Linked DNA regions of Homo sapiens: region 2 is linked to region 1. The links are contacts of gene promoters, found by promoter capture Hi-C in human tissues and cell types (Jung and others, 2019). All regions are on one chromosome and are shown on one strand. Each heading gives the region's core, a stretch centred on a gene start or on the middle of the fragment in contact. The rest is flanking DNA. Distances are from core to core; before and after follow the strand shown.

Region 1 (5,799 bases), core at 1,227-3,726:
GCCCAGGAGTTCGAGGCTGCAGTGAGCTGTGACTGCACCGCTACACTCCAGCCTGGACAACAGAGTGAAACCTTGTCTCTAAAAAAAAAAAAAAATCTACAAACCAGGCAGGAGCACTGAATAGCTCCTGTCTCCCCTGAGACCCTTGTAGACCTTGAGGTCTGTTACAGAGCTCACCAACCTTCTCTTGGTCTAGAATTATCTAAAAAGAGTTGAGTGCAGCCAGAAAGGACTGAATACATGGTGTTCTTCAATCCCATCAAACTGCTGTGCCCTGCAGATGATCCCTGAGTCCAGGTGTTGGTGGGTTGAGGACAAGGCTGAGGGAACAGAGGTGGGAAGAGTGGCCCAGGGCCAGGAGAATGCAGAGTTCAGAGTGCATGACCTGCATCTAACTCTAGATGCTCCAGGGGTCTGAGACCATCTCCAGCAGGGTCTGGAAGGCCCAGTCATTCCCCAGCACGCACAGTCACCACTGGATACTATCTTGCTCTGTGAGTGATGCAAAGGTCCTGGGTCAGTGAAGCCTGTGAAAGAAAGTTGGGACCAGAGTGTCTCTACGGTTGAGGGCTGGGCTTATTTGCTCTCTAAGTATAATTGTAAGAGCAAGTAGAAACACCTATCCTCTCTGAGCTTAAAAGGATCAAAAAGCTCTGACAGTGTCAGTGGTAGGGCTAGTTCAGGGACTGCAGTAGTGCTGGTGCCCACAGGTGGAACCTTCTCCTGCCCTGATTCCCAAGGACTGGTGCTCTCGGAGGGGTCTGGGAGGTATATTTCTCTTTCACAAATACGTGCACAACACATGAATGAGCTACTGGATGAGGGAATAAATGAATGAATGAGTGAAAAAAGCTTCCTTTCTCCTCTCCAGGAGTCAGCAGTCACTGGTTAGTTCCCCACTGCCCACCAGCCTGTGCAGAGGAGGGAGGAGCAACAGGTCATAGATGTGGTTGCAGCTGTTACTGGACAGAGTGGTCAAGACATCCTGTGTCTGCAGAGGCCCTCCCCAGCCCTCACCTGGGCAGTGGAGCTGTTGGCCAGAGAGGCAGTGGGAAGAAGGGTGGGGCTCCCAGAGTCGACCCTGCGGGCTGAAACTGGTGCAGCCTGCACCTCACCAGGCAGAGAATGGATGTGGGGCAGCTTGACACCGAGCAGGGGCTCATCTGAGCCTCAGGGGTGGTTGCTCTATCAAAGTGTTTGCAAGTAAACAGTCCCAGTGCACACCCAGCTGCTCAGTGCCACCTCGTGCACCCAGGGACACTTCAGCCTTGATCACAGGCCTGCACAGGTTCCAGGGGAGGAGACACTCCAGCTTTTTGAGGGAGGGTGAGCATGTGGGATCAGAGACTTTAAGTCCAAATTTCCCCTTAATTTTTTTTTAAATCTTGCAGGTAGTATGCAAACATACATTTAATGTATTATTTTTATTCTCATTTTTTTTTTGAGGCAGGGTCTCCCTCTGTTGGCCAGGCTGGAGGGCAGTGGTGAGATCTTGGCTTGCTGCAGCCTCAACTCAACCTCCCAAGCTCAAGTGATTTTCCCACCTCAGCCTCCCAAGTAGTTGGGACTGCAGGTGCCTGTCCGCCATGACCAGCTAATTTTTAAATTTTTTTTGTAGAGATGGGGTTTTGCCATGTTGCTCAGGCTAGACTCGAACTCCTGAGCTCAAGTGATCCTCCCACCTTGGCCTCCCAAAGTGCTGGGATTATAGGTGTGAGACACTGCATCCGGCTCCCAAATTTCCCCTTTTTATAAGGACACCAGTTGTACTGACCGGGGCCCCACCTCTATGACCTCATCTAACCTTCATTAACTCCTTAAAGGCCCTATCTCCAAATACAGGCACACTGGGGGTTAGGGCTTCAACCTATGGATTTGGGGGATGCAATTCAGTCTATCACAGTGCCAAGCTGCACCTGCTCGGTGAGCCAGAACAGGGGTGGGGAAGGCACCAGGCCCTGGTGCTTCTTTCCCATGCCTGAGTCACTCTACTTGGTTCTAGTAGGGAGAGGAGCATGGGCCGAAGGCAGTGCTGCAACATGGAAGGGGCAGAACATCCCAACCCGCTCTGGGCCCCCAGTGTCTTCTGCTGTACAAAGCAGGTGTTTTCACCCCCCGAGGATGTGTCCTCCCTTCCTGGCTCACCAAGCATTTAAATGTAGACAGAAAATTTATTTATCTGGGGTGCGGTTTCCTCAGGGGGAAGTTGAGGTCACGACCCCTGAGGTACCTTAACCCAAAGGCCTCCAGGGCACTGGCCCCAGAGTCTCCAGCAGGTGCTTCCTCCCTGAATGCTTCCATATGGCAAGATCAGAGCCACAAATGCTGCCCCGACGCTGTTCCGGTAACCGACGTTGCAGACCCAAGAAAGTCTGGGATGGTAGTGGCCAGGAACGGGGTGTGCCACGGCCCCACCTCTCAGAGCAGGGAGGAGGATGCTGGGCCAGCCCTTGGGGACCCCAGGCACCGTGGCCACAGGAGTCAGAGCTCTGCATGTCTGCACCATGTCCTGGGCTCCTGTCCTGCTCATGCTGTTTGTCTACTGCACAGGTGAGGGAACCCCCAGATCCCAAAGACTCCTGCCCCTTCCTTCATCCTGCCCTGCCCCCACGGCCCACATGCATCTGTGTCACCAGGTTGTGGTCCTCAGCCGGTGCTGCATCAGCCGCCGGCCATGTCCTCGGCCCTTGGAACCACAATCCGCCTCACCTGCACCCTGAGGAACGACCATGACATCGGTGTGTACAGCGTCTACTGGTACCAGCAGAGGCCGGGCCACCCTCCCAGGTTCCTGCTGAGATATTTCTCACAATCAGACAAGAGCCAGGGCCCCCAGGTCCCCCCTCGCTTCTCTGGATCCAAAGATGTGGCCAGGAACAGGGGGTATTTGAGCATCTCTGAGCTGCAGCCTGAGGACGAGGCTATGTATTACTGTGCTATGGGGGCCCGCAGCTCGGAGAAGGAGGAGAGGGAGAGGGAGTGGGAGGAAGAAATGGAACCCACTGCAGCCAGGACACGTGTCCCTTGAACTGAAGACAGCAGAGGCACGCATCCCCTTGGAGAGACTGTCATGGAAGAGGGTGGAGTCGCCGCCCGAAGCGCCGAGGAGGCTGAGCCACTCAGCATCTCCTGGTCCTGCAGTGTTGCTGTAAATCCCCATTGGAGACTGCATTAGGGAATTAAAGCTGCTTGTCACTTTTTGCTGAGTTTGGTCTGACTGTTGTGCGACTTCGTAGTACCAGCCTTGGGCAAAGGCCCGGGGCCCCGGGAGACTGGCAGATCACTGTGGTGAGCACTCACCTGAGTCCTTACTTTTGTGGGCCATGGGAGGCAAGGGGTTGACCGAAGCACCCTGGAGGGGCATCCATGCCCAGGACAGGACCCTCTGGTGTCATCTGATTCTGCCCAGCGGTTACAGGGCAAACAAGCTTAGAAAGCACCTGGTCTGGGCCTCCAGGGAGAACAGGAGCCAGGTAATAGGCCTAGAGTGGGTTCTCCACCTTGGTCCTATCGACGTTTTGGGCTGGACAGTTCTTGGTTGTGGGGCTGTCCTGCGGATTGTTGAATGGTGAGTGGTTATCTGTGGCCTCTACCCACCAGATGCCCCTTCCCAGTTGTGACAAACAAAAATGTCTCCAGACATTGCCAAATGTCCCCAGGTGGTAAACTCACACTGATTGTGAACCACTGGTCTAGATGAGCAAGTAAATGCATTTACTTATTTGTACAAGAGAGTGGCAGGTGTCGGCAAACATGTTCTTTTTTTCCTTTTTTTAGGGATAAAGTCTTGCTCTGTGGTCCAGGCTGGAGTGCAGTGGTGCAATCATAGCTCACCGCAGCTTCAAACTCCCAGGCTCAAGTGATTGTCCTGTCTCAGCCTCCTGAGCAGCTGAGACTACAGGCGTGCATCACCATGCTTGGCTATTTATTTAGTTTTATTTTTGGAGAGATGAATGTCTCACTATGTTGCTCAAGCTGATCTCAAACTCCTGAGCTCGAGTGATCCCCCTGCTTGGGCCTCCTAAAGTGCTGGGATTAGAGGCGTGAGCCACTGCACCCAGCCCATTTTCTATAAAGAGCCAGGTGGTAAATATTTTTGGCTTTGTGGGCTATGCGATCTCTGTCACAACTGTTCAATTCTGTCCTAGTAGCAAGAAAGCAGCCACAGACAAACATGTCAACAAAGAGGCATGGCTGTGTTCTTATAAAGCTGTATTTACAGAAACAGATGGGGCTACACTGGGCTGGGTATGGCGCCCAGGCTGTAGTTTGCTGAGCCCTGCTCGGGAGCACTCCAGCTCCTGTCTCCAGGTTTTAAGCAAGCCATGCTTGGTGGGATAATCAGAGTCCCCCCTCAACTTATCTTGCCTGTGACCCCAGGCAGAAGCCTCTGGACCCATGGAGATACCTAGAGGCATGAAGGACGTGGTCTCACTGAGACTGTGTTGGACTGTCTGGGTGAAGTAGCAATGGGGAGCTCCCTGCAGCCCCGGCCCACAGCAAGGCCCCCTGAGCCCGTGGGTGGTGGGTCTGAGTGTGCCTTGCGGAGAGGGACTCTCTACATTGGGTGTTCACACAACCTGTAGACATGCCTCACTCAGAGAGGTGCCGGGCAAACCATCTCCCTTGTAACCCCAACTTGCCTGGGAACGTGCATTCACCCCAGCTAAAAAGATCCTGAGGCATCTCCCCAGAGAGGTGGACACATGTCAGTATCAGCGTTCCATGTGTGGTCATGAGTCCCTCTCTTGTTAAACAGTGGTCTCCAGCACTTTGGGAGGCCGAGGCGGGTGGATCACCTGAGGTCAGGAGTTAGAGACCAGCCTACCCAACATGGTGAAATCTCATCTCTACTAAAAATACAAAAATTAGCTGGGTGTGTTGGCACATGCCCGTAATCCCAGCTACTTGGGAGGCTGAGGCAGGAGAATTGCTTGAACCCAGGAGGCAGAGGTTGCAGTGAGCCGAGATCATGCCACTGCACTCCAGCCTGGGTGACAGAGCGAGACTCCATCTCACAAAAAAAAAAAAAAAAAAAAAAAGAGACAGTGATCTCAGCTTATGCCATACTCTATGCACTGGGTTCTTCCTGCATCAGGCTTTTACCCCTGGGCCAGGCCCACATTTTAAAACATTATTATTTACTTGTTTATTATTTTATTTTAGAGATAGGATCTTGCTATGCTGCCCAGGCTGGACTGCTGTGGCTATTCACAGGTTCAATTCATGATGCTCTACAGCCTTGAACTCCTGGGCTCCAGCGATCCTCCTGTCTCAGCCTGCTGAGTGGCTGAACTACACGTGTGAGTCACTGCACCTGGCCATGGCCCACAGTTTTAAAGACCAGCTAGATGGTTCCAGAGGAACTCTGTCTTCTGCTTGTAACCCGTCCCTCTCTTGCCTCCATCCTTCATGATTCTGGGATTCCATGCTATGAGAAGAGATCTAGAAAGCCGGGAGCTGAGTTGGACTCCTGTATCATCCTCATGCCCCCACCCCACCAGCTCAATGGAAAATGAGACCTGGAACTCAGGCTTGAGGCCAGACTGAGTGTGAGTCTTAGCTCTGGAGGAGTCACTTAAAATCTAAGCCAACATTTCCAATGTTGCATGTAAAGGGGATAATCATAGAACTGATTAACTTATATAAAAAGTTTTTATCTGGCCAGGCGTGGTGGCTCATGCCTGTAATCCCAGCACTTTGGGAGGCCGAGGCGGGCAGATCACCTAAGGTCAGGAGTTTGAGGCCATCCTGGGCAACATGGTGAAACCCCGTCTCTACCAAAAATACAAAAATTAG
Region 2 (5,883 bases), core at 3,304-5,803, 110 kb before region 1:
GTTTTCTTTTTCTTCTCAGTTGACTGAATTATTTCCATAGTCTGTCTGTCTTGCCACTCTTGTTACCCACACGAAAGGACCTAAGGTAATTTCTGACAGCCTGGGACTCCTTGTGCAAAACAGAAGGTGCCACAGACCTCATTTTAGGAGAAACCTTTGTTTTCCTCTTGGAACCCCAAGAACTGTAAGCAGACAGGTCCATCTCAAAATCCAAGGCTCTGCTCTGTTTTGCTTTGCTTTACCTGACTTTTTTTTTGATTTGGGTGGGCATCAAAAATTAGTAGGGGAGAGCTAAAGAAAGTTGTGGATATGAACATGTATTTATGGTAAGGTAAGTTATGAAGGAGAGAAATCTTAGGATCTTGTATGGCAAATTCTTGCACTAAAGTAGATAATGACTAATTAGGAAAGCAGGAAATATAGGACAAGTCAGAAAGTCATAAGATGGGAGAGAAAAGCTTACGCCTGGTAGATCCTCTCCTGTCTAGAAGTGTCGTATGTGTGATGTTTATATGAAGGAGCTCTAATTAATTGGATTAAAAGATAATGAAAGCTCTAAAATTGTCAGAAAAATAGAAGCTCTAATGCCTTTTATTTCACGTGACTTCAGCAATCTTTGGGAAATGAGAGTTTTAAAATTATTGGTGGTAAAAAGTCTTCAAAAAGTAGACATTTGGTCTAAATTAAGTCAGAGGTTAAATTGGCTAAGTGCTTTAATGTCATAAACTGCTTCTTTGACTTTGGAAAATTGTTCAGTTTACCTAATTTGGAACTGTTAGATTTCTAGGTAAGGCCTGGGGAGAGGTGGAGTTAGCCATGTCTCCTAGCTATGCTGGAAGAGTTAGACTTTATCTGCAGTTCTGTCATGTATCCTGGACTCTGCACCTGGTATGTAATTGAAACTGCTTACATTGAAAAGAAAAATTATGTGTTTTTGGTTTTAAAAGGGGTGGGAATATGGTTTTTTCCAAAAAGTGAGTTTTGGCAAATTTAGAAAGTTTAAGAATTATTTTTAGTTGTAAGAAAATAAAGTTTAAGCAAGTTATAGAAGGTTTATGAAAATTAACTTTGTAAAGAATTGTGTGTGTGAGCAAGTTGACTAAAGGGACAGTAATGTTAGATGTAATAAATGCAGGTACCCTTCCACTTTATCTTCTGTTTCTTAGGTTATAAATATTCACTACCTACGTTTCTAAAAACTCTTTCACTGTAATATTAACACATAACTCCATTCTCCTTGTATTGCCTGCTTTTTCATAGTATCCTGAAATTGCATTAGTAGATTTAGATTCAGAAGATGGTGGGGAAGCATCTTATGAGTGTTTTAAGTAAATTTAAGGCAAAGGGTTTTCTGTACATGGGTGGTTATCACAGCATCACTTGTTGCAGCAAAACACTGGGTAACAACAATGTTTATCAATGAGAAATTGTTCGGATAAATGATGATTTGTGCCTTGCGAGGCTCAACTATTCAAAAGCACCCTCTTTTCCTCACTTGCTTTACCTTTGGTTCTGGGCCTGGAGCCTTTCAGAGGTTACTCAGGACAGTGGACTCCTGTTTCCTGTGACTAATCTGGACAGCGGCTTCCTATTTCATTCTTCAGCATCTTCCAAAAATTTCTGAAGATAATTTCTTCCTTTGTGACCACCCATACTCTTGGTTTACTTTGCAGTTAACAATTTCATGCCTTCACTGGATTATCTGTGTGAAGGTGTGGGGTGTATGTGTTCATACTCTGGAGGGAGCAGAGGAAAATAGCCACAGCCAAAGGAGTAATCTTGCACTAAATACTCATTATAAGAATGTTGATACGTTCATAGATGGTAAATCTGTCAGTAATTTTTACTTGTATGATTCTTGGTTAAGACTGCACTCACTGGTGATAAGCGTGCTGAAGGGATCATAGGTGCTATACTTATGTGTGGGAATTGCATTCAAACCACCAATGCCTGTCTACTCAAGTTTTGTTGCCTTTTGATTAAAAACTCTTGGGAATGTTTCCCTGGCATGCAAATATGGGAACTGCAGTTTGATTCTAGGTAGAAACTCTTTGGTAGTTGAAATGCCATAATAAGAGACACAGCTGTCAATGGGCAACAATTCACTGTTGGTAAGGAATTTACAGTGCTACTTGCCATATTCTTCTTTATCCAGACTTTGTGCCAAGAAAATGAAATTCTTTTTAAAAATTTTTTTCTAGAGTAATCCTACAATATTGCTGTTATCAAGCCTGATGCTGTAATTAGTAGAAAATGTCTAGAAATTAAAAGAAAAGTAGTATTTTCCAACTATGGTTAAATTAATTGCAAAATAACTTCCTCTTAATTGTCAGATTGGAGACAAGCTTATTAAGAGTGAAATAAAACATAATGTGTTGCTGGTGCTAGGTACCTCTAAAGCCTTTGAGCACTTTCTTCTTTATAAAGGCTCAATCTACTCATGTGTCCTGTAAATAATCCTGCTCTACCAGCATCCTATGTAAATTTTAAAAATTATAGTTCATATATTAGATTGTAACAAATGTTGTTCTTCTTTAATTATATGCAATGCAATCTTGTTATAGACTCACATTAGCTTGCCTTATTCCCTGTATGTTTGCTGTAAAATGTATAGTCCTTTTCAATATATGATAGCTTAAAGATGGACTTAATATTTTGTTTTAGAACCAAAATCTTTTATCTTATATACAGGAAAATTACATTGGAATTCAGAGATCAGCAAACATTTCCTGTAAAGGATGAAATAGTAACTATTTTCAGGTTTGCTCAGCATGTGGTCTCTGACAACTAAACTCTGAAGTCATACCAAGGCAGCATCAGTAATGTTTAAATGAGTGAATGGCGCTGTGTTCCAATAAACTTTATTTACAGAAACAAGTGGTGGGCCACATTTTGACTGCAGGGTATAGTTTGTGGACCCCTGAACAATGGCTTTTTCTGAAACAACACAATTGAATTGAGATTTGAAAGAATGTTGAGGCAGCATTGTTTGTCTGGGGTAATACCTGAGGTTTGTCATCTCACACCAGGGAAATCAGGGATGTGGACACACAAGAAGTGAGTTCAAGAGTGGATGATTAATAGGTGAAAGAAAGAGAAAAGAGAACAGCTCTCTCTCCTGCAGAAAGAGAGAGGGGCACCTGAGTGGGTCTTCCGGTTTTGTGGTGAAAAGCACAAGGTTTTATAAAGGAGCTTGAGGAGGTGGTGTCTTGATTTACACAGGGCTCTAGAGACTGGTTGGACCAGGTGTGAACGTTTGCATAGCACAGGGAGAAGCTGGCCATTGCACCCTAATCTTTTATTATGCAGATGGGTTCTTTACCTTACCAGGACCATATTGTCTGTTCCTTACTGTACCTGTGGTTGACAGAGAAAAGGGAAGATGGAGCCACCATGTTGAACATGCCTGGCCCACAGGTAGCCTTTTCCTATTGGCACAGCTGCTGGCATTCCTATGAGAGCTTATCAATGTCTGCAGCCCAATTTTACAAGATGCTCTTTGTTAGAAAATAAATGATATGGGTTTTTTTTTTCATTAGTAGGAAAACTTTACACTAGGACTTCCTTACTTTCAGTATCTGCCTAAATAATTTCTTTTTAATTCCTACATCAATGTTGCATGTGCAATAGAGAAGGTGACATGTAGGGAGCTGTGTCAGCAGGGGTTGCATATTTCTTGATGAGCATCCCATGATGCATTCTTCTTCACTTGTGGCAACATTAGCATTAACTAATCTACAGTAAAGTAGATGGGTCCACAGGTCATGGGACATACACTAGCTCTGCCAATTACATGTTGATTTAAATAATATCATTCTCTAAGGACAGCTTTTTTTCCCCCAGATCCTGGTATGTATGTGGAGTTGGGGAGAGACACCAAACTGTACCCCATTTCCTCATACATTGCTTATACTTTTAGAAGTGTTTGAAAGATAATATCACATACTAGTAGTTTACTGTTTCTTATTCAAGTTAGTTTTAATAGTCGCTAGGGTGAATGTTTTCAAAATTGTATAGATATTCGGGTTGAGGCAATACTATAAATTATGAGTTCATCTCAGTTTTTTTGTGCTAGCGTAATGACATTTCGGAGACATAATGCATATGTGCAAAATACTTCACCTCTCTGGAAAACAGTAAAGGGCTACATAATAGGACAGACAAAAATAAAGGCTTGGCGTAATGGCTCACACCTATGATCCCAGCACTTTGGGAGGACAAGGCGGGTGGATTGCTTGAGCTCAACAGTTCAAGACCAGCATGGGCAACATGGCGAAACCCATGTTTACAAAAACGATAAAAATAAGCCGGGCGTGGTGGCATGTGTTTGCAGTCTGAGATACTTGGGGGACTGAGGCAGGAGAATCGCTTGAGCCTGGGAGGTCAAGGGTATAGTGAGCCGAGATCGTGCCACTGCACTCCATCCAGCCTGGATAACAGAGTGAGACCCTGTCTCAAAATAAGTAAAAATTTATAAAACAAAGAATGTTTCTAACTGTAATAAAGGAGAAGTGATCAAGCTTAAGTGTAGCTTAGATTTAATCTTTGATTTCCGGGTACTATATTACTTAAAAATATGATTTGGATATTTAGAAGTTGTTCAAATTAGAAACTCAGGAGTGGGGTCACTGGTCACTAAGGTGCTGAATATTTTTAATACCTTAGTGGATATGTAATCAACAAAGCCAACGGAACCAATAGAGCATTTGCTTTCATAAGAATTTAAGTGTTGCTGGGTACTCTTAAATCGAGCTCACATTATTGGTGTCATTTAATATAATTACTGAATTTCTTTGAACCCAGTTTCCACTTTTTAAAAATTATTTAGCTCATTAGGCTGAAAACTTCTCTTTGTTACATTTTATTACACTTCAGTGTAATATGTGTAAGATGTACATTGCTTCTCTCTAGAAAGGTGAGACAAGTTGAAGCAGGGTTGGGGGTGGGTGCTTCCAGTTCATAGGTAAATAGGAGACAAACGGTTGCATTCTTTTGAGTTTCTGATTATCCTTTCACTGAATACACAATTTACATGCAAGATGCCATAGAGGAATAGTCACTTATGCCTGAGTCTGGCTTAGTGAATCTGCATTTTTACATAAAAAACTGGGCAGAGAAAGCCAATCAGATACACATTTGTCTCAGGTGAGGAGAGGGATGACTTTGGGTTCTGTCCTTTGTCCCCCACCTGTAAAGATAATCTATCAATTGCCAATTTATATTGCCAGGGTCAAATTCAACAGAACTGTTTTAGTGTAAAGATCTTGAGGCCCACAAGAAATTTCCTTTCTGACAAATTATGAGGGAGGTATATAGCTTTCGAAATCTTTGTAGTTATTTTTTTATTTTATTATTTGGGTTTTTTTTTTCTTTATTGACAAATAATTGTATATACTCACAGGGACATAGTGATGTTTCAATACAGAAAAGTTATAGTGAGCAGAGCAGGATAATTTCATATCCTTTGTTAAAGGAAAATAAATCTCCGGGACACCCCACTAAGCCAAATAATAGTTATCTTATTTAGAAATAAAATGGGAGGCAGGTTTGTTTGATGGAGTTCCTAGCTGAGGTGGGAGAATTGCTTGAACCTGGGAGGCCGAGGTTGCAGTGAGCCGAGATCGCGCCATTGCACTCCAGCCTGGGCAACAAGAGCGAAACTCTGTCTCAAACAAACAAAGACTATAGAAAAGCTATTTGTGAAAATGCTTTTTGATGTGCTGTTTTATGTCACAGAATGCAACCTGTGTTTTGATTCAGCAAGTTCAAAACACTCTTTTTGTGGAATCTAAGAATTGATTATTTTGATCCTATTGAGCTTTCATAAGAAAATATGAATATCCAGTTGTAAAAACTAGAAATAAGCTATAAGCTATCTGTGGA

The links. Contacts are between HindIII fragments. The study calls those that stand out against the background at their distance.
Region 2: a contact is called between a fragment that was not itself captured here and the fragment with the promoter of VPREB1 in region 1, in 2 of the 25 tissues and cell types used here (dorsolateral prefrontal cortex and mesendoderm cells).

The regions. Positions count from the first base shown.
Region 1 is chr22:22,242,310-22,248,108 of GRCh38, forward strand. It overlaps VPREB1 (V-set pre-B cell surrogate light chain 1), which reads left to right and starts at 2,477. Exons shown (of 2, transcript NM_007128.4): 1 at 2,477-2,550; 2 at 2,637-3,206. The coding sequence starts at 2,505. The coding sequence ends at 3,028. It also overlaps IGL. The HindIII fragment of the contact is 13,267 bases long and covers 1-5,799 here.
Region 2 is chr22:22,128,309-22,134,191 of GRCh38, forward strand. It overlaps IGL. Among named protein-coding and RNA genes, the nearest start is that of VPREB1, 110 kb to the right of the region's middle. RefSeq lists a silencer at 1-166. The HindIII fragment of the contact is 6,305 bases long and covers 1,402-5,883 here.